Regions from separate parts of the Homo sapiens genome. Here regions 1, 2 and 3 are each linked to region 4. The links are contacts of gene promoters, found by promoter capture Hi-C in blood cells and fetal thymus (Javierre and others, 2016). All regions are on one chromosome and are shown on one strand. Each heading gives the region's core, a stretch centred on a gene start or on the middle of the fragment in contact. The rest is flanking DNA. Distances are from core to core; before and after follow the strand shown. Region 1 holds the start of CYP1A1 (cytochrome P450 family 1 subfamily A member 1). Region 2 holds the start of CYP1A2 (cytochrome P450 family 1 subfamily A member 2). Region 3 holds the start of CPLX3 (complexin 3). Region 4 holds the start of CYP11A1 (cytochrome P450 family 11 subfamily A member 1).

The links. Contacts are between HindIII fragments. The CHiCAGO score rates a contact against its expected background, and 5 or more counts as called.
Region 1: a contact is called between the fragment with the promoter of CYP1A1 here and the fragment with the promoter of CYP11A1 in region 4, in 5 of 17 cell types (M2 macrophages, M0 macrophages, erythroblasts and 2 more). The highest score is 8.9, in M2 macrophages.
Region 2: a contact is called between the fragment with the promoter of CYP1A2 here and the fragment with the promoter of CYP11A1 in region 4, in 3 of 17 cell types (M0 macrophages, M1 macrophages and M2 macrophages). The highest score is 8.8, in M0 macrophages.
Region 3: the fragment with the promoter of CPLX3 here is called in contact with the fragment with the promoter of CYP11A1 in region 4 in 1 of 17 cell types (M2 macrophages); the score reaches 6.0 in M2 macrophages.

What each region holds. Positions count from the first base shown.
Region 1 is chr15:74,723,569-74,728,746 of GRCh38, forward strand. It overlaps CYP1A1 (cytochrome P450 family 1 subfamily A member 1), which reads right to left and starts at 1,960. Exons shown (of 7, transcript NM_001319217.2): 1 at 1,873-1,960. RefSeq lists a promoter at 1,668-3,572, a cis regulatory region at 2,423-3,797, enhancers at 2,449-2,472, 2,505-3,704, 2,843-2,865, 2,940-2,954, 3,003-3,026 and silencers at 2,517-2,797, 2,517-2,692, 2,537-2,616, 2,688-2,797, 2,797-2,956. The HindIII fragment of the contact is 9,244 bases long and covers 719-5,178 here.
Region 2 is chr15:74,745,122-74,750,582 of GRCh38, forward strand. It overlaps CYP1A2 (cytochrome P450 family 1 subfamily A member 2), which reads left to right and starts at 3,724. Exons shown (of 7, transcript NM_000761.5): 1 at 3,724-3,776; 2 at 4,609-5,448. The coding sequence starts at 4,618. RefSeq lists a cis regulatory region at 1-2,393, promoters at 519-3,814, 1,200-1,748, 3,480-4,617 and an enhancer at 1,368-1,626. The HindIII fragment of the contact is 9,803 bases long and covers 1-5,461 here.
Region 3 is chr15:74,825,377-74,830,229 of GRCh38, forward strand. It overlaps CPLX3 (complexin 3), which reads left to right and starts at 1,251. Exons shown (of 3, transcript NM_001030005.3): 1 at 1,251-1,491; 2 at 2,658-2,745; 3 at 4,754-4,853. The coding sequence starts at 1,328. It overlaps LMAN1L (lectin, mannose binding 1 like), which reads left to right. Exons shown (of 14, transcript NM_021819.3): 14 at 100-378. The coding sequence ends at 229. LOC105370897 (a long non-coding RNA gene) reads left to right here and starts at 2,756. Exons shown (of 2, transcript XR_932478.1): 1 at 2,756-3,512; 2 at 3,742-4,325. RefSeq lists a silencer at 1,233-1,440. The HindIII fragment of the contact is 16,039 bases long and covers 1-4,853 here.
Region 4 is chr15:74,363,804-74,369,005 of GRCh38, forward strand. CYP11A1 (cytochrome P450 family 11 subfamily A member 1) reads right to left here and starts at 3,843. Exons shown (of 9, transcript NM_000781.3): 1 at 3,514-3,843. The coding sequence starts at 3,782. It overlaps LOC124903524 (a long non-coding RNA gene), which reads left to right and starts at 1,659. Exons shown (of 2, transcript XR_007064709.1): 1 at 1,659-1,702; 2 at 1,859-5,202. RefSeq lists a silencer at 2,226-2,385, a promoter at 3,793-5,202 and an enhancer at 3,975-3,999. The HindIII fragment of the contact is 5,873 bases long and covers 318-5,202 here.

The DNA.
Region 1 (5,178 bases), core at 710-3,209, 360 kb after region 4:
ACATATCATCATAAACAATATCTATGTGAAAGTACAAGTTTGATTTTTCCCCTAACACATTAAAATAAACACATAATCAAGGTGTATCACCCCGAGTCCTACCCACCACACTTAGGAAAATCATGTTCTCAGGGGAATTAGGGATCATCTGATCCTTTAGCCTCATTTAACATTTGGGGGAAGCAGCGCTGACTTGTCCAAAGTCCCCCAGCAATCAGTGACAGAGCCAGGACTCAGACTCCTTAGGGACACTTCCCTGGAAATTTCCAGCTGCTGTCACATGTACCTCCTTTTGAAGAGTGGTCAGATCAATGAAGGAATTTTCCCAGAACCCTCAGTTCTCTGCTGCTCAATCCCAGGATGCAGGAAATCCCACCAGACCCCAGGACAGACTGAGGAAGAGATAGGGGACAGGATGGCCACTTCCCAAACCACATTGCTTTCAGCCCCAGCTCTCTGAGTTCAACTGATCCACAGTTTAAAGGCAGCTGGAGACCAGCTAGATTGAGCTCTTTAGTCAGAGAAATCCAGGCCAGGGTTTTTTTTTGGCTCAATTCTCAATGAATGAACAGTTTGGACCTCCCCCTTTTGCAGGTTACCAGAGAGCAGAGAATAAATGGAAGGTTCCCACTAGGCTGTAAGAAAACCCCAGACTGGAATCAGGGAAATCAGGAATGGATCTAAACTGAAAGGAAACTGAGGCAATACTTTCTCTGTAAGCTTGACCTAAAAAGGGTGTTTAAATTCATAAACCACTCTCTCCAACATATCAGGCATCTCTGCCTGTTACCCTGGACTAGAGGTCAGTAGACCCAACATTCTAGTCAAAGTGATCTTGGACTGCACATTTTACTTTTCTGGGGTCCAATTTCAACATCTGAGAGAGGGTAAGACAAGATCTCTCAGTTCAGAGTACCCAGCTGGATCCAGAGGGAAGAGAAAACCCAGATCTGCTGTGGGGAACCTGACAGTCTTACCAGTTAGGCTCCCCACAGGAGAACCTCACAAGACAGGGAGATGGATGGTTCCTACCACAAGTATTATAGTGGAGGGAGGCTTCCTGGAGGGGCTAAATATCAAAGCACACTAGATCCCTGAGTCAACAGGGGACAGTGCCAGGCTTTGGTGTGCTATGGTGTCCCCTTCTGCACAGTGGGTATCCCAAGGACCTGCAGCCTTTGTAAGATGGTAGGAGGCCAAGGGAGATGTGACTGGTGAGTTTTTAGGGACTGGTATTTCCAGCTCCCTGCAGTTGGCAATCTGTCACCCTGATTGTCTCCCAGCAAAGGACAAAGAAGATGGTCAATGAGATAGGAAAGGCCTGGGACTCCTGCACAGATCTGCCTCTATTGTCCCAGCTGTCTAGGACATCTCAGCACTGACAAGCCACCCTTAGGAGGGTAAAATCTGCCAGGGGTAGCTTCTTAGGCTAGGGCAGGGTACAGCTGGTAAGAACCCAGCCCACCCCCTCCATCCACCCTGTCCACCCAAGGAGAAGCCCCTGTCATCAGAAAGCCTGAGGGAGGGGCTGCACATATTCCAGCCTGCCAGGTGGCCTTGATGGGGAAGCCCCAGGGTAGGCAGGGAGACACTCACTAGGGGATGGAGCTGGAGCCTGGGTCCTGAAGTCCTGAATGAGATGCCATCTGTATCTAGAGGTCTGGTACCAGCTGTGGGACCATGGGCAAGTCCTCCTCTTCCCCTGGCCTCAGTTTCCCCACTAGGGGGCTAGACTGCCTGGTCACTAAAAACACTCTGAGCCTCCCTTTTTGGAGGTGCTAGACAGGTAGCTACCTAAGAAGTCCTGGAGGCACCAAAATGTTCCTTTTATTGGGAGAGAAAGGGCAAGCCAGAAGTCCCCCAGCAACTCACCTGAGGTACTGAGCTGAGCTGGGAAGGGTGGACTCTTGGAGCCTGGGATCACAAGGATCAGGGAAGGTTCCAAGGAACTGTCACCTTCAGGGTGAGGGTGAAGGCACTGCCACCTTTATAGGCGGGCTTGTACGTGTGGCCACGCCTCCTTCCCTGGAGCGAGCTGAGATGGAGGGAGAAGCAGCCTGAACCGGGCTGGTCTCTCTGGGATTGGAGAGAAAGGTGGCGGAGGGCGGCGGGGGTGGGGGGTCGGGTGGGCAAGAACCCACTATGGGACACATCTCGGTGCCTGTACATAGAGGGGTGAGGGCTGGGAACACCTGGAAGTCCCAATTCCAAGGCGTCCCAAGGGCAGTGCAGAACCCAGCCGAGGAGGGGGCTTGAGGGAGAAGTCCCAGGACAGCCCGAAGAGAGGGTACGGGAAGCTCCATCCTGGGGCGCGGGGACTCCTCTTCGTCATTTTTGCACCCACTGGAACGCTGGGCGTGCAGATGCCTCCCCAGCGCTACAGCCTACCAGGACTCGGCAGGCGGGGGCGGGGCTGCCCCGTGGTGACCTCCTTCCCGGGGTTACTGAGTCCCGGCTCGCGTGAGAAGCGCTGCGACCCCAGCCCTGAGGTCACGGGGGCCGGAAGGCCAGAGGCGCCGCGGGGCTGGACCTGTCCCCCAGAGCCCGGGCGACTAGCTGAGGTTCGCGCCTCTTGATTGAAGGATCGGAATGGATGGCGAAGGGGCAGGCTCGCTGAGCGCTCACTAGCGGCTCCTCGCAGCCTCTAGGATCGCCTTAGTGCTGATTGCAACGCGCGGTCCCTCCAGCCAGGACCCACCGGCCCTTGAGGGTCCCTCTTGGCTCCCGGGGTGGCTAGTGCTTTGATTGGCAGAGCACAGAAATCCGGCGGCGGGGGGCCACGGAAAGACTCGGGCCCAGGGACCACGGAGGGGGCACCTGGCGCGGAGCCCCCACCCTACCCCCGGCTAGCTTGCGTGCGCCGGCGACATCCCTCTAGGGGGCAGAGGTCAGGCGGCCCGTCCCCGCCCCACCTGGCCCGGAGGCGCGGTGCCCAGGCGTTGCGTGAGAAGGACCGGAGGCCCGCGCAGCCACCCAGCCGACCCATTCCCCGGCCCGGCGCGGGGGCTCGCAGTCACGCGAGGGGGGAGGGAGTCGGGGCGGGGCTCTTAAAGGGCCAGCCTCGCGCGCGGCGTGGGGTTGGGGTGGAGGGAGAGGAACTGTCGAAGGGTGGCGGGTGCGCGATTGAATAAGGGGATGCGGTGCAAAGGGTCTAGGTCTGCGTGTGGCTTCTGCCTGCGAGGAGAGGCAGCCTGCATGTGTCCGCATTTTCGGTCCACGCCTGTGGCACGACACGAAGCCCCAGTGCCATTTGGCATGGCCTAGCTGCCTGCCTCCGACGCTGTCCCGCCCTCCGGAACCTTCCTGTTACAGGGTTTCCAGGAAAAAAAAAGTTGTATTTGCGTGCCTAGCTCAACCTGGCCCCAGCTAACATCGTTACGCGCCATCCCCGACGTGCTCCCCAACCCGGTGGCACCACCATCCGTCGCTGGTCCAGGCCAGAAAATAATCCCCTCACCTCCCATTCCGGTCATATGCGGCCTCGTGCATTGCACAAATATTTACCAAGCAACTACTATGTGCCAGGAGCTGTTCGGAGGCGCTGGCGATTGACAGAGAAGGGAACACAGCTGACAGCACTCCTAATCTCGTGGAGTTTACATTCTGATGGAAGGAGACAAGTAATATGCCCCAAATCTAGAGAATGTGAGAGGGTAAAAAGTGCGGTTGAAAAAAATTAAACAGAAAAGGCGTACGGATTATGTGAGGGCAGATTGCAATTCAAAACAAGGGGGTCAGGGAAGGCCTTGCGGAGAGAGGCAGGAGTGTGGAGTCAAGAATCAATGTGCATAGATATCTGGATAAAAAGTGTACCTGGGCAGGTGCGGTGGCTCACGCCTGTAATCCCAGGACTTTGGAAGGCCGAGTCGGGAGGATCGCCTGAGGTCAGGAGTTCAAGACCAGCCTGGCCAATATGGCAAAACCCCATCTCTATCAAAAATACAAAAATTAGCCGGGCATGGTGTTGCTCACCTGTAATCCCAGATACTGGGGCGGTGAGGGGGGTTTGGGGGGAGTGGAGTCAGGCAGGAGAATTGCTTGAACCTGGGAGGCAGATGTTGCAGTGAGCTGAGATCACGCCACTGCACTCCAGCCTGGGTGACAGAGCGAGACTCCATCTCAAATAAAAGACTGCAACTGGCAGAGGGAATAAGCAAAATCAAAGCCTCCCGCCACCCCCCACCACAGTGGTTCTTGAAGGACCGAGCAGTACCAGGGATGTGCAGAGGTCATGTGACTGGGGAGTTCTCCTGGCATGTAGTCCAGGGGGATGGGATGCCCATGAGGCACAGCGCCCTGCCGCATGTGCAGGGAGCACCCCATTGAGAGACATGAGACTTCCTCTGTGCGAGATAGAGACATGGCTGGGGTGTAAGAGAAGCAAGGTCACTCGGGCTACTGTGCTAAGAATAGGAGGCACATTTCTCTGCTTGGCATCTGCTTTGGCATCTGTCCAGCTCCACTGCCACAACTCATCCAGGGCCCATCATTGCTCCCTGGAGCACTTAGCCTCCACCTAGGTTCCCATTTGCCTTTTGCTCCGTCCAATTACTTCTCCATCCTGTGGCACCCAGAGTGGTCCTGTCAAAAATGCAAAATCTCATTCCATCACCACCTTGCTTAAATTTCTTTGGTAGCTCCCACCACTCTGAAGGCAGGAATAAGAATCTTTAGCAGCTCTCCCTCTCCCTCTCCCTCTCCCTCTCCCTCCCTCTCCCTGTCCCCTCTTTCCACGGTCTCCCTCTGATGCCGAGCCAAAGCTGGACTGTACTGCTGCCATCTCGGCTCACTGCAACCTCCCTGCCTGATTCTCCTGCCTCAGCCTGCCGAGTGCCTGCGATTGCAGGCGCGCGCCGCCACGCCTGACTGGTTTTCGTATTTTTTTGGTGGAGACGGGGTTTCGCTGTGTTGGCCGGGCTGGTCTCCAGCTCCTAACAGGGAGTGATCCGCCAGCCTCGGCCTCCCGAGGTGCCGGGATTGCAGACGGATTCTGGTTCACTCAGTGCTCAATGGTGCCCAGGCTGGAGCGCAGTGGCGTGATCTCGGCTCGCTACAACCTCCACCTCCCACCCGCCTGCCTTGGCCTCCCAAAGTGCCGAGATTGCAGCCTCTGCCCGGCCGCCACCCCGTCTGGGAAGTGAGGAGCGTCTCTGCCTGGCCGCCCATCGTCTGGGACGT
Region 2 (5,461 bases), core at 2,474-4,973, 380 kb after region 4:
GGATTCTCCTGCCTCAGCCTCCTGAGTAGCTGGGACTACAGGCATGCGCCACCATGGTCGGCTAATTTTTTTGTATTTTTAGTAGAGATGGGGTTTTATCATGTTGGCCAGGCTGGTCCAGAACTCCTGACCTCAAGTGATCCGCCCACATCAGCCTCCCAAAGTGCTGAGATTACAGATGTGAGCCTCCACACCAGGCCTGAGACTCTGTCTCAAAACAACAACAACAACAACCAGAATGTATCAATATTCATCCACGAATTGTAACAAATATATTACACCACTGCAAGATGTTAATAATAGGGGAAACTGCAGAGTGGGGGTGGTAAATGGCCACTTTTACCTCCCTCATCATACTTTCCACTCAATTTTTCTGTGAACCAAAGACTGCTCTAAAAAAATCTATTAGCTTTTTAAAATTCCTTGGCTCCCCTCCAAAAAGTGTACATATGACATGATCTCATTTATGTAAAATACAACAAGCAAAACAAATCCATGCAATAGATGTTGGGGTCATGGGTACCCTTGAGAAAGGAACACAACGGGACTTCTTGGATGCTTATGATGTCTCTTGATTAGAGCTGGTTATATGTGTGTTTGTTAAGTTTGCAAAAATTCATCAAGCTACACATGATCGAGCTATACATGACATATGCACTTTTCCATTTATTTATTTATTTTTGAGACAGAATCTTGCTCTGTCACCCAGGCTGGAGTGCAGTGGTGCGATCTTGGCTCACCGCAACCTCCGCCTCTCGGATTCAAGCAATTGTCATGCCCCAGCTTCCCGAGTAGCTGGAATTACAGGTGTGCACCATCACGCCCAGCTAATTTTTTTTTGTATTTTTAGTAGAGATGAGGTTTCACTATGTTGGCCAGGCTGGTCTTGAACTCCTGGCCTCACTCAAGTGATCCTCCCACCTCGGCCTCCCAAAGTGCTAGAATTACAGGTGTGAGTCACCGGTCCCAGCTGACATATGCACTTTTCTATATTGTATCCTGTAATTTAATTTTTTTAAGTTTTAAGAAAACATTAAAAATAAAAAGATAAATAGTCTGTCATACAGGAGAATTTCAAATAGTTTATGGAGATAATCCCCCCTCAAGGAGAAGGAGCGTAATCCCCCACTCCTTCGGTGTGGGCTGTGCATAGTGACTTCCTTCCAAAAGGTACAGTATGGAAAGGTGGGAAAGGAGTAACTTTACAGTGAAGAGACCTGACACGCACTACCTTAGCCAGGTGATCAAGGTCAACATCCACATCTGTAAGTCACATTGATAGGATGTAACCCTGATATGATGTGACGAGAATGGCACCTAACCTCCAAGGTCTTCCCACCAACAAACCATAACCCCAGGCTTACCATGAGAAGAAAAACATCAGGCACATTCCAATAGTGGGCATCCTACAAAATGTCCAACCAGTACTCCTGAAAATTGTCAAGGTCATCAAAAACAAGGATATCCTGAGAAACTGTCACAGCCAAGAGGAATCCAAAGAGACGTGATGACTAAATGTCATGTGATATCCAATGGGTCCTGGAACAGGAAAAGGACATTAGGTAAAACGCAAGGAAATCTAAGTAAACCATGAACTTTAGTTAATTAGAGAGACAGACAGACAGAGAGAAAGAAAGAGTCCATTTTCTATAAAACCGAGCCTAACCTCAAACCTTGACCTTTTTCATTGAGTCATCTGAACCCAATGGAGATATAGACAGGAAACAACTTTCCTCTTCTCCCATTCATGGCCTTCAAACATGCTCTGTTTCTCTATTGGATTCCCCATCCATCTGCCTTGGCATCTTCACAGGTTGATCCCACAGTTTTCTCATTTTCAGGAATAAAAGCCCACTCCAGTCTAAATCAAAACTTCCCTCTCACATCCATGCCGGGCACAGTGGCTCACACCTGTAATCCCAGCAGTTTGGGAGGCCAAGGCAGAAGGATTGCTTGGGCCCAGAAGTTCAAGACCAACCTGGGCAACATGGCAAGACCTCCTCTCTACAAAAAAATGTTTAAAAATAAAAAAATTAGCCAGGCATGGTGCACACACCTGTGATTGTGGTCCCAGCTACTCAGGAGGCTGAGGCAAGAGGATTGTTTGAGCTCAGGAGGTCGAGGCTGCAGTGAGCCATGATTGTGGCACATGAACCCCAACCTGGGTGACAGAGCAAGACTCTGTATCTAAAAAAAAAAAAAAAAGATAGCAAACTTCCTTTTCACATCCAATTTAAGGCTTGTCCTCCTCCTCCTCTTAGATCTGACTGAGATCTGGGTCCATATTAAAGACTCCTTTAGTACAACAAACACCATATATCCTCACGTAAGTCCATGAATATCTGACATTTCTCATATCTACTTTCTCTCGATTTATTGATAGATAGGTATACATTGTTTTAATTTTATGGGTACATAGTAGGTGTATATATGTATGGGGTACATGAAATGTTTTGATACAGGCATGCAATATGAAATAAGCATTCATGGAGAATGGAGTATCCATCCCCTCAAGCAAGGATAAACCTTTGAGTTACAAACAATCCAATTACACTCTTTAAAGGTGTACATTTTTTTTTTTTTTGAGACGGAGTCTCACTCTGTCGCCCAGGCTGGAGTGGAGTGGCACGATCTTGGCTCACTGCAGCCTCCACCTCCCAAGTTCAAGCCATTCTCCTGCCTCAGCCTCCCGAGTAGCTGGGATCACAGGCACATGCCACCATGCCTGGCTAATTTTTGTATTTTTAGTAGAGACGGAGTTTCACCAGGTTGGCCAGGCTGGTCTTGAACACCTGATCTCAGGTGATCCGCCCATCTCGGCCTCTCAAAGTGCTGGGATTACAGGTGCGAGCCATCGCGCCTGGCCTAGAGGTGTACATTTTTTAACAGAACCATTCAAAAGGAGGTTGTGGGGATCATGACACTTCCATGCTACAGCATTAATCTCCTAAGAATAAGGATACACTCCCACATACCATGACACTCTGTTCACACCTAAAAAAATTTACATTTATTCCAGAATATCATCTAATCTCCAGTCCGTGCTTACATGTCCCCAATTGTCCCCAAAACATCTTTTATAGATTTTTTTAAAATTTTGTTTAAATGCCATATCCAATCGATATGGCAATCAAATGCAAATCCATATTGCATTTGGTTATGTCTCTTAGTCTTTTTGCATAAGGGGGGCCTCTCTTTAGGATGCAAAATCTTTATCATCTCTTCTTTTCCACTTGGGGACTTGGGCTGAAAATCAGGAGTGGCTGGAACACGCCCATTTACTGTTTGGTTTTGCAGGTTGTTGGAGGGTACTACAGAAGAACATCCCTCTGGAGAGGGGCCGTGAGCCTGGTTGGCCTAGACTGAGTGCCCTGGCAGAGCTCTTCCTCATGTGTGCAGTGGGAAAGAAGCCCAGATCAGTCCAAAGGCCTAACCCCCACTCCCAGACCCTACCCTACTCTTCAGAGAAATAGGCTCCCTACCCTGAACCCTAAAGACAGCTGTACCTTCATCCCCAGGGACCCAGCACCCCTTCTGGCCTATCCCCAAAGAGTCACCCTGGGTCTTAGGTAGTAGGTGGAGCTGAGGGATAATGGCCCAAGGCCAAGAGTTGATCCTTCCAACTTTGTTCAGTGATCCAGCTTTCATATCAGGTGATCAGGACAACCAGGCCAATCTGATAGGGGGCGGTGTTTATAAAAAGGCCACTCACCTAGAGCCAGAAGCTCCACACCAGCCATTACAACCCTGCCAATCTCAAGCACCTGCCTCTACAGGTACCTTTCTTGGGACCAATTTACAATCTCTGGGATCCCCAACTATAGAACCTGGAAGCTAGTGGGGACAGAAAGACGGGGAGCCTGGGCTAGGTGTAGGGGTCCTGAGTTCCGGGCTTTGCTACCCAGCTCTTGACTTCTGTTTCCCGATTTTAAATGAGCAGTTTGGACTAAGCCATTTTTAAGGAGAGCGATGGGGAGGGCTTCCCCCTTAGCACAAGGGCAGCCCTGGCCCTGGCTGAAGCCCAACCCCAACCTCCAAGACTGTGAGAGGATGGGGACTCATCCCTGGAGGAGGTGCCCCTCCTGGTATTGATAAAGAATGCCCTGGGGAGGGGGCATCACAGGCTATTTGAACCAGCCCTGGGACCTTGGCCACCTCAGTGTCACTGGGTAGGGGGAACTCCTGGTCCCTTGGGTATATGGAAGGTATCAGCAGAAAGCCAGCACTGGCAGGGACTCTTTGGTACAATACCCAGCATGCATGCTGTGCCAGGGGCTGACAAGGGTGCTGTCCTTGGCTTCCCCATTTTGGAGTGGTCACTTGCCTCTACTCCAGCCCCAGAAGTGGAAACTGAGATGATGTGTGGAGGAGAGAGCCAGCGTTCATGTTGGGAATCTTGAGGCTCCTTTCCAGCTCTCAGATTCTGTGATGCTCAAAGGGTGAGCTCTGTGGGCCCAGGACGCATGGTAGATGGAGCTTAGTCTTTCTGGTATCCAGCTGGGAGCCAAGCACAGAACACGCATCAGTGTTTATCAAATGACTGAGGAAATGAATGAATGAATGTCTCCATCTCAACCCTCAGCCTGGTCCCTCCTTTTTTCCCTGCAGTTGGTACAGATGGCATTGTCCCAGTCTGTTCCCTTCTCGGCCACAGAGCTTCTCCTGGCCTCTGCCATCTTCTGCCTGGTATTCTGGGTGCTCAAGGGTTTGAGGCCTCGGGTCCCCAAAGGCCTGAAAAGTCCACCAGAGCCATGGGGCTGGCCCTTGCTCGGGCATGTGCTGACCCTGGGGAAGAACCCGCACCTGGCACTGTCAAGGATGAGCCAGCGCTACGGGGACGTCCTGCAGATCCGCATTGGCTCCACGCCCGTGCTGGTGCTGAGCCGCCTGGACACCATCCGGCAGGCCCTGGTGCGGCAGGGCGACGATTTCAAGGGCCGGCCTGACCTCTACACCTCCACCCTCATCACTGATGGCCAGAGCTTGACCTTCAGCACAGACTCTGGACCGGTGTGGGCTGCCCGCCGGCGCCTGGCCCAGAATGCCCTCAACACCTTCTCCATCGCCTCTGACCCAGCTTCCTCATCCTCCTGCTACCTGGAGGAGCATGTGAGCAAGGAGGCTAAGGCCCTGATCAGCAGGTTGCAGGAGCTGATGGCAGGGCCTGGGCACTTCGACCCTTACAATCAGGTGGTGGTGTCAGTGGCCAACGTCATTGGTGCCATGTGCTTCGGACAGCACTTCCCTGAGAGTAGCGATGAGATGCTCAGCCTCGTGAAGAACACTCATGAGTTCGTGGAGACTGCCTCCTCCGGGAACCCCCTGGACTTCTTCCCCATCCTTCGCTACCTGCCTAACCCTGCCCTGCAGAGGTTCAAGGCCTTCAACCAGAGGTTCCTGTGGTTCCTGCAGAAAACAGTCCAGGAGCACTATCAGGACTTTGACAAGGTGAGCCCGGGGT
Region 3 (4,853 bases), core at 1-2,500, 460 kb after region 4:
GGTGCAGTGAGTGTAGCAAGGCAAGCATGAGAGTCCTGGTTTTTCAAAAGCCCATAAAGGAGAGACGCAAGTAACCTGTAACCTTCTCTCTGGCAGCAGGCAGGAGCTGAACAAGAGCCTTCAGGAGTGTCTGTCCACAGGCAGCCTTCCTCTGGGTCCTGCACCACACACCCCCAGGGCCCTGGGGATTCTGAGGAGGCAGCCTCTCCCTGCCAGCATGCCTGCCTGACCCACCTCAGAGCCTGCTTTGCATCACTGGGAAGCAGGCAGTGTCTTGGGTGGGGGCTTGGTCAGTATCCTCTCCGTCTGGGTGCCCAGCTCCCACGCACACCTGAGCTTTCGGCATGCTCCCACCTCGTTAAAGGTGATTTCCCTCTCCCCATGCTGTGATATGCTGGTCTTCTTTCCAGCCTCACCCTAATCTCTGTGAAGGCTTCCACCCCTTCTGAGTACCTGGCTGGGAGTGCGCTCCAAGCAGGCAAGGAGGCCAAGGCCTGGCTTAACCTCCAAAAGACCGGATACCCCACGGGCTTTGAACCCTCGACTATGGAGGGAAAGAGAGCCATGACTGTATATAATTCTGTCCTCAAACTCACCCATAACAGAGAGCAGTGTCTCCCAGTGTCCCTCCTGGCCCAGCTCAGCCAGCATCACTGAGCAGCTCTCTCCCTCCCCACTCCTAGCTGCTCCAGGGGCAGCAGGGGAGGCGCGTGACAGAGCAACCCTGAGAGGCCAACTCGTGGAACCATAACTGGGATTCCCGCTCGCGCCCTCAGGTCTCCCTCCCTTTTCCAGCGTCAAGCTCTCTGGGCAGCTGCTGGGTTCAGTGACTTGGGTGGGTGGGGAGAATGGGGGGCACCCAAGGCTGGGTTTTTACCCCTTGCTGCTACCTGGATCTCCCAGCTGAAATCCTAGTTATTAGTGGCCCAGGAGAGGAGAAAGTTGGAAGAGGCTATGGAACAGGGTTCCGGGAGTGTATGAGCTCAACCCCTCTCCCGGGAGAGCGACCCCACCACCGCAGGCCCTAATCCTCTGTCAGCAGTGCCCAGCGGAGCTCGGCGTTGAAGGAGGCACGTGGGGGAGGCGGGAGTGGGGAGCGGGCACGTGGTCCAGCCTTCTCAGCCCCGTGCTGCCCCCCGCCCCCAGTGAGGAGGGGTTTGGGGAGGTGGGGGCGGGCCCGGGCGGGGGCGGGCGGCGGGCGGTGCCAAGCGTGGGGCGCGGGCCCGCGGCGGGAGCTGTCCGCGAAACCTAGTGCTGAAGTAGGCGCGGACGTGCCCGGTGCCTGGCGCGTGGTAGCAGGCGCCCGGTGCCCCGGCCGGCGAAGACCATGGCGTTCATGGTGAAGACCATGGTGGGCGGCCAGCTGAAGAACCTCACTGGGAGCCTGGGAGGCGGCGAGGATAAGGGAGATGGGGACAAGTCGGCAGCCGAAGCTCAGGGCATGAGCCGGGAGGAGTACGAGGAGTATCAGAAGCAACTCGTGGAAGAGAAGTGAGTGGGATCCCTTCCTGGCTCCAACGACCTCCCCTCCCCACCCCCACAGCTGCTCAGTCCATCCCCGGGCCAGCCTCAGGTCCCAATCCCTTCTCCCCTACTTTCCTAGACACGGTAAGAGACCGGGAGGTGTCCTCTACACTGCCCCCAGACCCATCCTATCTGACACCCAAAACCCCGCTCCAGCATCATGCTCCGGCCAAGGGGGAGTGGGGGGAGGGGCGACCGGACGAGGGACCGACCGGAGCCTGGGACGAGGAAGGGGGTGCACGTGCGTTTCTGACGAAACGATAATCCCTTAATCCGATCTGGTCCCAGCCGCCTATGTCTTCCAACTGGGGCTCCTCTGAACTTGAGGCTCTGAAAAAAGTGGTGCAGCCGCTCAGAGTCGCGGAGACAGACCCTGAGATGGGGGCACTCACAAACATTGAGCACTTGTGTGCCCGCAGTGCTGGGACAGAGTTTGGGGCTGGACTCTGCTGCTAGGCTACTTGGGTTCAGAGCCTGGCTTTGCCTATTAGCTGGATAACTTTAGGCAAGTTACTTAACCTTTCTGTGCCTCTGTTTCCTTTTCTGGAAAGTGGGGATGGTAATCATAATACATGCCTTGTATATTTATGAAGATTAAATGCCAATGCATGTAAACTGTTTAGCACAGCACCTGGCACATGATAAAGTCTCATAAATGATAGCTATTATTTCGCTCAATCCTGATAACAGTTTTGTGAGTTGCAAAATTTTATCCCCATTTTACAGAAGAGGAAGGTAAGTGACTTACCTAAGGATATACCTAAAATGGTAGTGGAGCTGGGATGTGAACCCAAGTTTGGCCTGAATACTTTTCCCCACATGACATAGCTTGTCAGTGAGGGAACAGCAGACCAAGTTGGAGGCCATGAGGGACAAATAATTAGGATCTGCAGAGAGAGCCAGACAGACTGCCACCCTGGTTCCCTAGTTCCATCCAGTGGCAGAGACGACAAAGGGCACTGTGATGGGCAGAGGCAGCAGAAACCTGGATGTCCGGGTTGGAGCGCTTTTGCTACACACAGGGACCAATGCAGCAGCTGCTAGGACTCAGAGACCCCTTCTGTCCCTCCCTCGAAGACCTCAACCCCCTTCTCTCAGCCCTCGTGGTGACTCTGCCTCCGGTGACCCTGCAGGATGGAGCGGGATGCACAGTTCACACAGAGGAAGGCAGAGCGGGCCACACTGCGGAGCCACTTCCGAGACAAATACCGGCTACCCAAGGTAAGCTGGCCCCGGCTGTGAGGCACATCTGGGACCCTGAGCTCTGGGTTCTGGACTCCTTCGCCCCATTCTGGGCACCACAGCCCTCAGCTATGAGACTCACAGGGTATTTGGTTAGATCCTTCCTTCTCATTCATTTGTTCTTTTATTCATTCACTCACTCGTAGTTAAATCTGTGCCCACCAAGGGCCAGGGCTTTGTGCTGAGGGGACCCCAGTCCTCATGAGACTGACAGGTCTGTATTTCTGGAGCCAATCTAGGCCTCTTCTCTCCTCCACCCCCCATATCCCCACCAAGCCTGGGCCAGGCCTGGGCAGAGGAAGACACAGGGGAGGCAGAAATCAGTAGATTTGACTGCAGAGGTGAGTGTTCTGGGGGTTTCTGAACCTACTGAAGGGCAGAACTTACTTAAGGTGGGGGAGAGAAGCCCTGTGTGTGCCAAGTACTTGACCTTCATGTCCTCATCTAACCCCCAATAATGCTGCCAGGCAGCTATCACCCACAGCGACAAAAGATGAAACTGAGGCTAAGAGAAATGGAGGGACTTGGCTAAGATCATACAGCCAGTGAGCCATGGAGCTGGGACCAGCCCTCAAGCCGGTGAATATGAGCCTGCCTTTGCTCCAGGGCCCCAGGCTGCTTTCCAGAGTATGGAGTCTGCCCGTAGAGAGCCAAGTACCCCCTTGGCCGGCCAAGCAGCCAGAGAGTATATCTCAGGAGATCCCTGCCCCCACGCTCCCCTGGGCAGTGCACCACCAGATGGGCGTGTAAGTGTGCTGCTCCTGTTGTCTAAGGAGGGGAATGAAGCACAAATCTCTCCCAGAATATCACCCTAGTGCATCCAGAACTGTGCTGGACTCAGGGGAAAACAGCACAGGGCTATAGCGCTCCTGATTTTGATCTTCCACTTGAATTGAATGACCAAATATATGAACATCACATTCACTCATTCAACAAATATTTACTGAGTCCCCAGCTGCTTCTGACTCCCCACAGGGCACCAATCTTTTGGAAATCTGTCACGGGGAAAAACCGGTCCAGAAAGCCTGCCTCACTGCAAACTCTTCTAGGAATAAAATCATTCCTCAGATGCTTGCGCTAGGCATATAAGAGACACCTGCCATCAGCAAAGTCAGAGTTGAGCAGAAGAGCCAAGACTTGGATGCAACTGAGTAGGACATAAGGCGCCCCCCAGAAGAATAGTGAAGGGCAATGGTCATCGTAGGTGCCATGCAAAAAAACACAGATGTTGGAATCAGTGACATAGGTTTGAATCTAGCTCCCCAACATCCTGCCTGTGTGATCTTGGATAATTTAAGTTACTTAAGTTACTTAAGTTAGTTAAGTAACTTAAATTTAAAGTAAGTTACTTAAATCCTGTAAGCCTCAATTTCCTTATTTGTGAAGTGGAAATAACAATACCTACCTACCTCACAGGGTTATTGTGAGAATTAAAAGCACCCAGCTCAACGTCTGCCATGTAATAGATATAATAGATGTTTGATAAATGGTACCCATCACTATTTTTGGTTACACCCTTAAGCATAACAAGAGTCAAAACATGACTTAGCTGACTGTAACAGTGTGACTCATAGGTATTTTCATTTTGTCTTTACTCACTGTGCTGGTCCTTCAGCATCTCAGAGTGAAATAAGGTAATATAAAAAGGTCTCCATGTCCAGGCATCAAACGCTTGATCCTGGGATGTGGGGGTGGGAGCTGAGCTCACTGGAACATGGGGCTCAAGAATCTAAGGGGCCGGGCACAGTGGCTCATTCCTGTATTCCCCCGGCACTTTGGGAGGCCAAGGTGGGCATATCACTTGAGCCCAGGAGTTTGAGACCAGCGTGGGCAACATAGGGAGACCTCGTCTCTACAAAAAAAAAAAAAAAGAAAAAATAGAATCTAGGGGCCTGGAACCCAGTCCAAGCCTCCTCCCTGTCCTCTCAACTCTGGGTCCTCACAGACTTCCACTCCACCCCACCCCCTCTTCCCCTCTTCCCTTCAGAACGAGACAGATGAGAGCCAGATCCAGATGGCAGGTGGAGACGTGGAGCTGCCCCGGGAGCTGGCCAAGATGATCGAGGAGGACACAGAGGAGGAGGAGG
Region 4 (5,202 bases), core at 2,593-5,092:
CTGAGGCCCTAGGTTTTGGTCACACTCTCACCTAAGTGAAAACCTGATCAAAAAGGGAATTTTTTTCAACAAAATTCTGGGAGGCCGTTGTTTTGGACTGATCTCATGCACTAGGCCCCAACAAACCAAACAAAACCAAAATGGGGCCACTCATGCCAAGACTTTAAGGAAACACATAGATTCTAGAAAAGACTAGGTTTTGTTTTTTCTTCTGCAAATCACTACAACAAACATTTCTGACAGTATAGGTATCCACCCCCTAAAGTTTCCATTAAATCTTTTAACCAAATTCATTTCCTCTCACCTAGAGACCATCAAGCTTCAGATGATCATGTAACAAAGGTTCCAGCCAGTTCCAAGTGAAGACACCACCCCTGGACATCAAGAAGCTACCCTTCCTCCACTAGATAGAGCAGGGTGAGAGTTCCATGATCCCCAATAGGTAGGGACTATGCCCCAAGCCAGCATGAAGCAGTTACAGAAAAAAGACCATCGGTCCCTCTGCCTCCCATAAAGATTTATGGGGATCACATCTCTTGAAGGGGCAGATGAGGCAGGAAAATAGGGTCTGAAGTGTGAAGATCGATTCACACTTCAGCTATAACAGGAAATATCCTCTCCATAGGGTGTATGACTATGTAACTTGAATACTTCATCCTCTCCATTTACATAAGGTGTATCTGAAGTAACCAATGGAATCCTCTGGGGGTAAATGCCCCACAATTCTGTAACGGGACCTTTGAGCCCCTACGCTCCGCCTGCTCCCACACTGTGGTGTGTATGTTCATTTTCAATAAATCCCTTCATTCCTTCCTTACTTTGTCTGTGCATTTTGTCCAATTCTTTGTTCAAGACGCCAAGAACCTGGACACCCTCCACCGGTAACAAAGGGGCTTAATAAAATAAGGAGTTGCTACTGAGGGTCTAGGAAGTGGTGAAAAGGGAAGAGAGGAGGAAGCAAGGATAACTAGAGATCTATGTGAAGTGAGCACGGGACAGAAGCACTAATAGGCCTAGGAGAGAGGGGGAGGAAGGAGAGACCCAGCGGGGCGCAACCTCCCAAGCCCAGCACTCAACCTTGAATAGGGTGGGGTGCGGGGTGGGGGGAGCTCCCTGCCACCAACCAGCTATCAAAAGGGGCAGTTTGGACTTTAAAGGAGTTGTGAGAGAGGGAGGGAGCAGCTGAAGCCCCAACACAAACTAGCCTGCCTTCTCACCCACCCCCAGCCCAGTCATCAAGCCGGCCAACACATCTTACCCTTCCCTCTTCGTGACTGACCCATTGGAATGCTCTGAGTTGTAAAGACCTTTCACTTAAAGGAAAACGTACTGTCCCTCCTGGTCTCCCCTCCCAGCCCCCAACCACCCCTGCGCCACCTCCGTTCCCTCTCAACCGGACTCTTAGCAAAGAACCCAGGTGTGGCTGAAAGGCTGCCCACCGTGGGAACAGCTTTAGCAGTTTTCCCAGGAAAAAGCCACAAGCCCTGGAGGCACAGAGGCCCAAAGACAAAAAAAAAAAAAAAAGGCCTTTCCTCCTAGCAGGAAGCAAGCCCGATTCTTGGGAAAGGGAAGGGACAGACTCAGAGCCTCAGGGCCAAGGGGTGAGATCCAGCACCCCAGCAGGACAGGAATCTAGCTGGGTGACCTCTCTGAGCCTCAGTCTCCTCCTCTGACCATGGGGACAACAAACTTCGCTTGCAAGGTGTGCGGAGGGTAACGGATGTAGGGAGGCATTTAGTAGGGCTTGTTCTCTAACCACCTCTCTCCGAGAGTTTCAAAGGGAGTGGGATCTGGGGAAGGTTGAGGCCTCAGGCCTGGGAACTAGGAATACTTTCCCTTTTACCCACCACCATCCCAGGCCTGGAAGAAGATCAGAAGTTGGACAGGAGAGGTCCGGCCGCGCGGACGTCACCTTAGCGCGCCACTGTCGGCTCCGGTGGGCTCGGGTGAGCTCGGGTGAACGCAGCGAGCGAGGGCAGAGGCCAGCAGAGGCGAGGAGTGGATGCTGCAGGGCCGCAGGCCGGGCAGAGAAACGCATACCGGGTCGCTCCCTGCTTCGCCGCCGCCTCCTGGCAGGGCCAGCGAAGCCAGTGCTCCAGCGCCCCCGTAACACCTCAAAGCGCACGGAGTCCGTGTTGGGGAACTTGGCGGCAGAGTGACTGGGACCTAGGACCTGCGGTGGGGCCGCCGCCGCCTCCGCGGGGCCGAGCGCCTGGACCTCGCCCTGAGGTAAACGCGGGTCGACCCGGGGGGCGGATGGGCTCGGGCTGTGTCGAGGGGAGGCGGAGGTGAGCGACCCGCGAAGAGCGCAGGAGCAGGCCGGGGGCCACGCTAGGGCGGACCCAATTTCGGAATAGCGCGGCCCGGGCGGCGGCGTGCGCTGGGAGGAATGCTGGGTCTGTCGCTAGCGCCAAACTTGACCACGCTGCGACCTTTTCACTCTGTGCTCTGACCTTCAAATCTCCCTCCCCCGATTTTTTTTTTTTTTTTTTTTTTGAGACAGAGTTTCGCTTTTGTTGCCCAGGGCGGGAGTGCAGTGACATGATCTCGGCTCACTGCAACCTCCACCTCCTGGGTTCGGGCGAGTGTCCTGCCTCAGCCTCCCGAGTAGCTGGGATTATAGACCCCCGCCACCATGCCCGGCTAATTTTTTTTATTTTATTTATTTATTTATTTATTTATTTATTTATTTTTGTAGTAGAGACAGGGTTTCACCATGTTGGCCGGGTTGATCTCGAACTCCTGTCCTCAAGTGATCCGCCTGCCTCAGCCTCCCAAAGTGCTGGGATTACAAGCGTGAGCCACCGCACCCGGCCTTCTCCCAATTTTTAAAACTCGCTGGCTGGGCTGACAGCTACAGGGCCAGGAATTCAAAACTTAGCCTCACCAGTCTCCCCTCCTCAGACCGAGGAGGTTGTTTTGTTTTGTTTGAGACAGAATCTCACTCTGTCGCCCAGGCTGGATTGCAATGGTGCGATCTCGGCTCACTGCAACCTCTGCCTCTCCGGTTCAAGCCATTCTCCTGCTTCAGCCTCCCGAGTAGCTGGGATTACAGGCGCCTGCCACCACACCCAGCTAATTTTTGTATTTTTAGTAGAGACGGGGTTTCATCATGTTGGCCAGGATGGTCTCGAACTCTTGATCTCAAGTGATCCGCCCACCTCGGCCTCCCAAAGTGCTGGGATTATGGGTGTGAGCCACCATGCCTGGCCAGACCTGGGGTTTGGACCCATTAAAGAGCTTCCTTACAGATGGCTGGCGGTCTTGCCACCAATTGTTTCAAAAGTAGATGTCTGGTTTAGAGTACTTAAGACATTCACAGATTCAAATGTTGAATTTTGAAATATCCCTGATATATTTCTGTATTGTATTACCAAAAAAAAAAAAAAAAAAGAAGTTAGACAGGAGTTTGGAACCAGAGAACAGCCTGTTGGGGGAGTGGGGACTACAGCAGGGCTACCCAGGCCCCTCCTCCTCCCTGTCCCTTCGGCTCCCACCCTCTGCCAGGCTTACCTGTAAATCGGGCCATACTTCTGGAAATTCTGGACATGGTGAAGGTGGACTTTGTGTGTGCCCGTCTCCCTCCAGAAATGGTACAGGTTTAGCCAGCCATTGTCACCAGGAGAGGGGATCTCATTGAAGGGGCGAGGACTGCGGGTGGAGATGCCAGCTCCCTCGCCAGTGGGCACCCTGAGACGCCCCAGCCCCTCCCTGGGGGCACTCAGAAAGGTCTGGCAGCCTTTGACCAGGACTGAGCGTGGGGGAAGACCCTTGGCCAGCATGCTGTCCCCACAGCTGTGACTGTACCTGCTCCACTTCAGCGGGGACTGCTAGGATGACTGTAGCCCTGGGCCACCAGGGCCAAGATTATAACTACCAGCTCAAGGCCATACCAGAAGCTGATAAAATGTTCACGTCCTTCCTCCTGCTGCAGGCTCAAACCCGCAGACAGCTCCTCCCCTACTCGGTATGAAGGTTCAGTCTGGAATTTCTGCAGCGTGAGGTTCTCCAAAGGACAGGGAGACCCCTCTGTCTCTGCCCTCAGTGCCAGCCCTAGCAGACTCCTGAAATATCTGCCTGTGCTTTTGCCTGAGCTGGGGCCTCCCACTGGCCCCTGCAGCGGAGTCCATGCCCTGGCAGCCATTGGTCAAGACTGCAGACAACCTGTGTTTGGGGGAAATGAGGGGCCCAAGAGAAGGTCAGAGCTATCTTGCCAGCTTGGGCAACATACGTCTTAGTTATGGCCCCACTGTATAGACACACATCATTGAACAACAGGGATAAGTTCTGAGAAATGCATCCTTAGGCTATTTTATTTTATTTTATTTTATTTTATTTTATTTTATTTTAAGAGAGTTTCATTCTTGTTGCCCAGGCTGGAGCGCAATGGCACAGTTTCACCTTGGAACCCTAATCCTCGTCGTCTCTCCCCAGTTGACCCAGATTTGGGGCTGTAATTCAGTACAGCTGACTCAGAGGGGCTCTGGGTCCCTTGAGCTGAGGTCTGTGGTCAGGCTCCACTCTGGACACACTCTAAGACCTTGGCAAATCTGGTTGCCATGGAACTCAGGATGTCAGCTCTTCCCTGTCCACACACTTGATCTGTGCTGCTTTCCCCTCAGAGCTGCTTCCATACCCCCTCCCATCATATCATATCCCCAGACCCATCCTTCCAGCCCAGGTCAGCCCCCACACCCACCCCCCATCACCCTGCACCTACCACTTTCCCAAACAACAAGGGTCAGTCACCTGTAGAGTTTTCAAGTCATTTCAACAAAATTACAGCCCACTTGGTAAAAATGTGTAGGTCAGAAAACATACATGTGCCATGTAGAGCATTTCATGACAGCAATCTACACTATACCTTATACTTATCATTGGAAGGTACAACTTCTTGCTTTTTTTCCCCAAAATCTTATTTTCTGGCAAATAAGGCATTTAAAACACACATCTAAGAGACAGAAAATAGACTGGTGGTTGCTTAGAGCTAGGGGGATAGAGGAATTAGAGGATGGGACATAAAGTGTGTAGGGATTCTTAGGATGATGAAAATGAAAATATTCTAAAGTATATTGTGGTAATTATTGAACAACTCTCTGATACACTAAAAGCCATTGAATTGCATACTTTAAATGGGTGAATTGTATGGTGTGTGAATTATATCTCAATAGAGCTGTTACCAAACACACACACACACACACA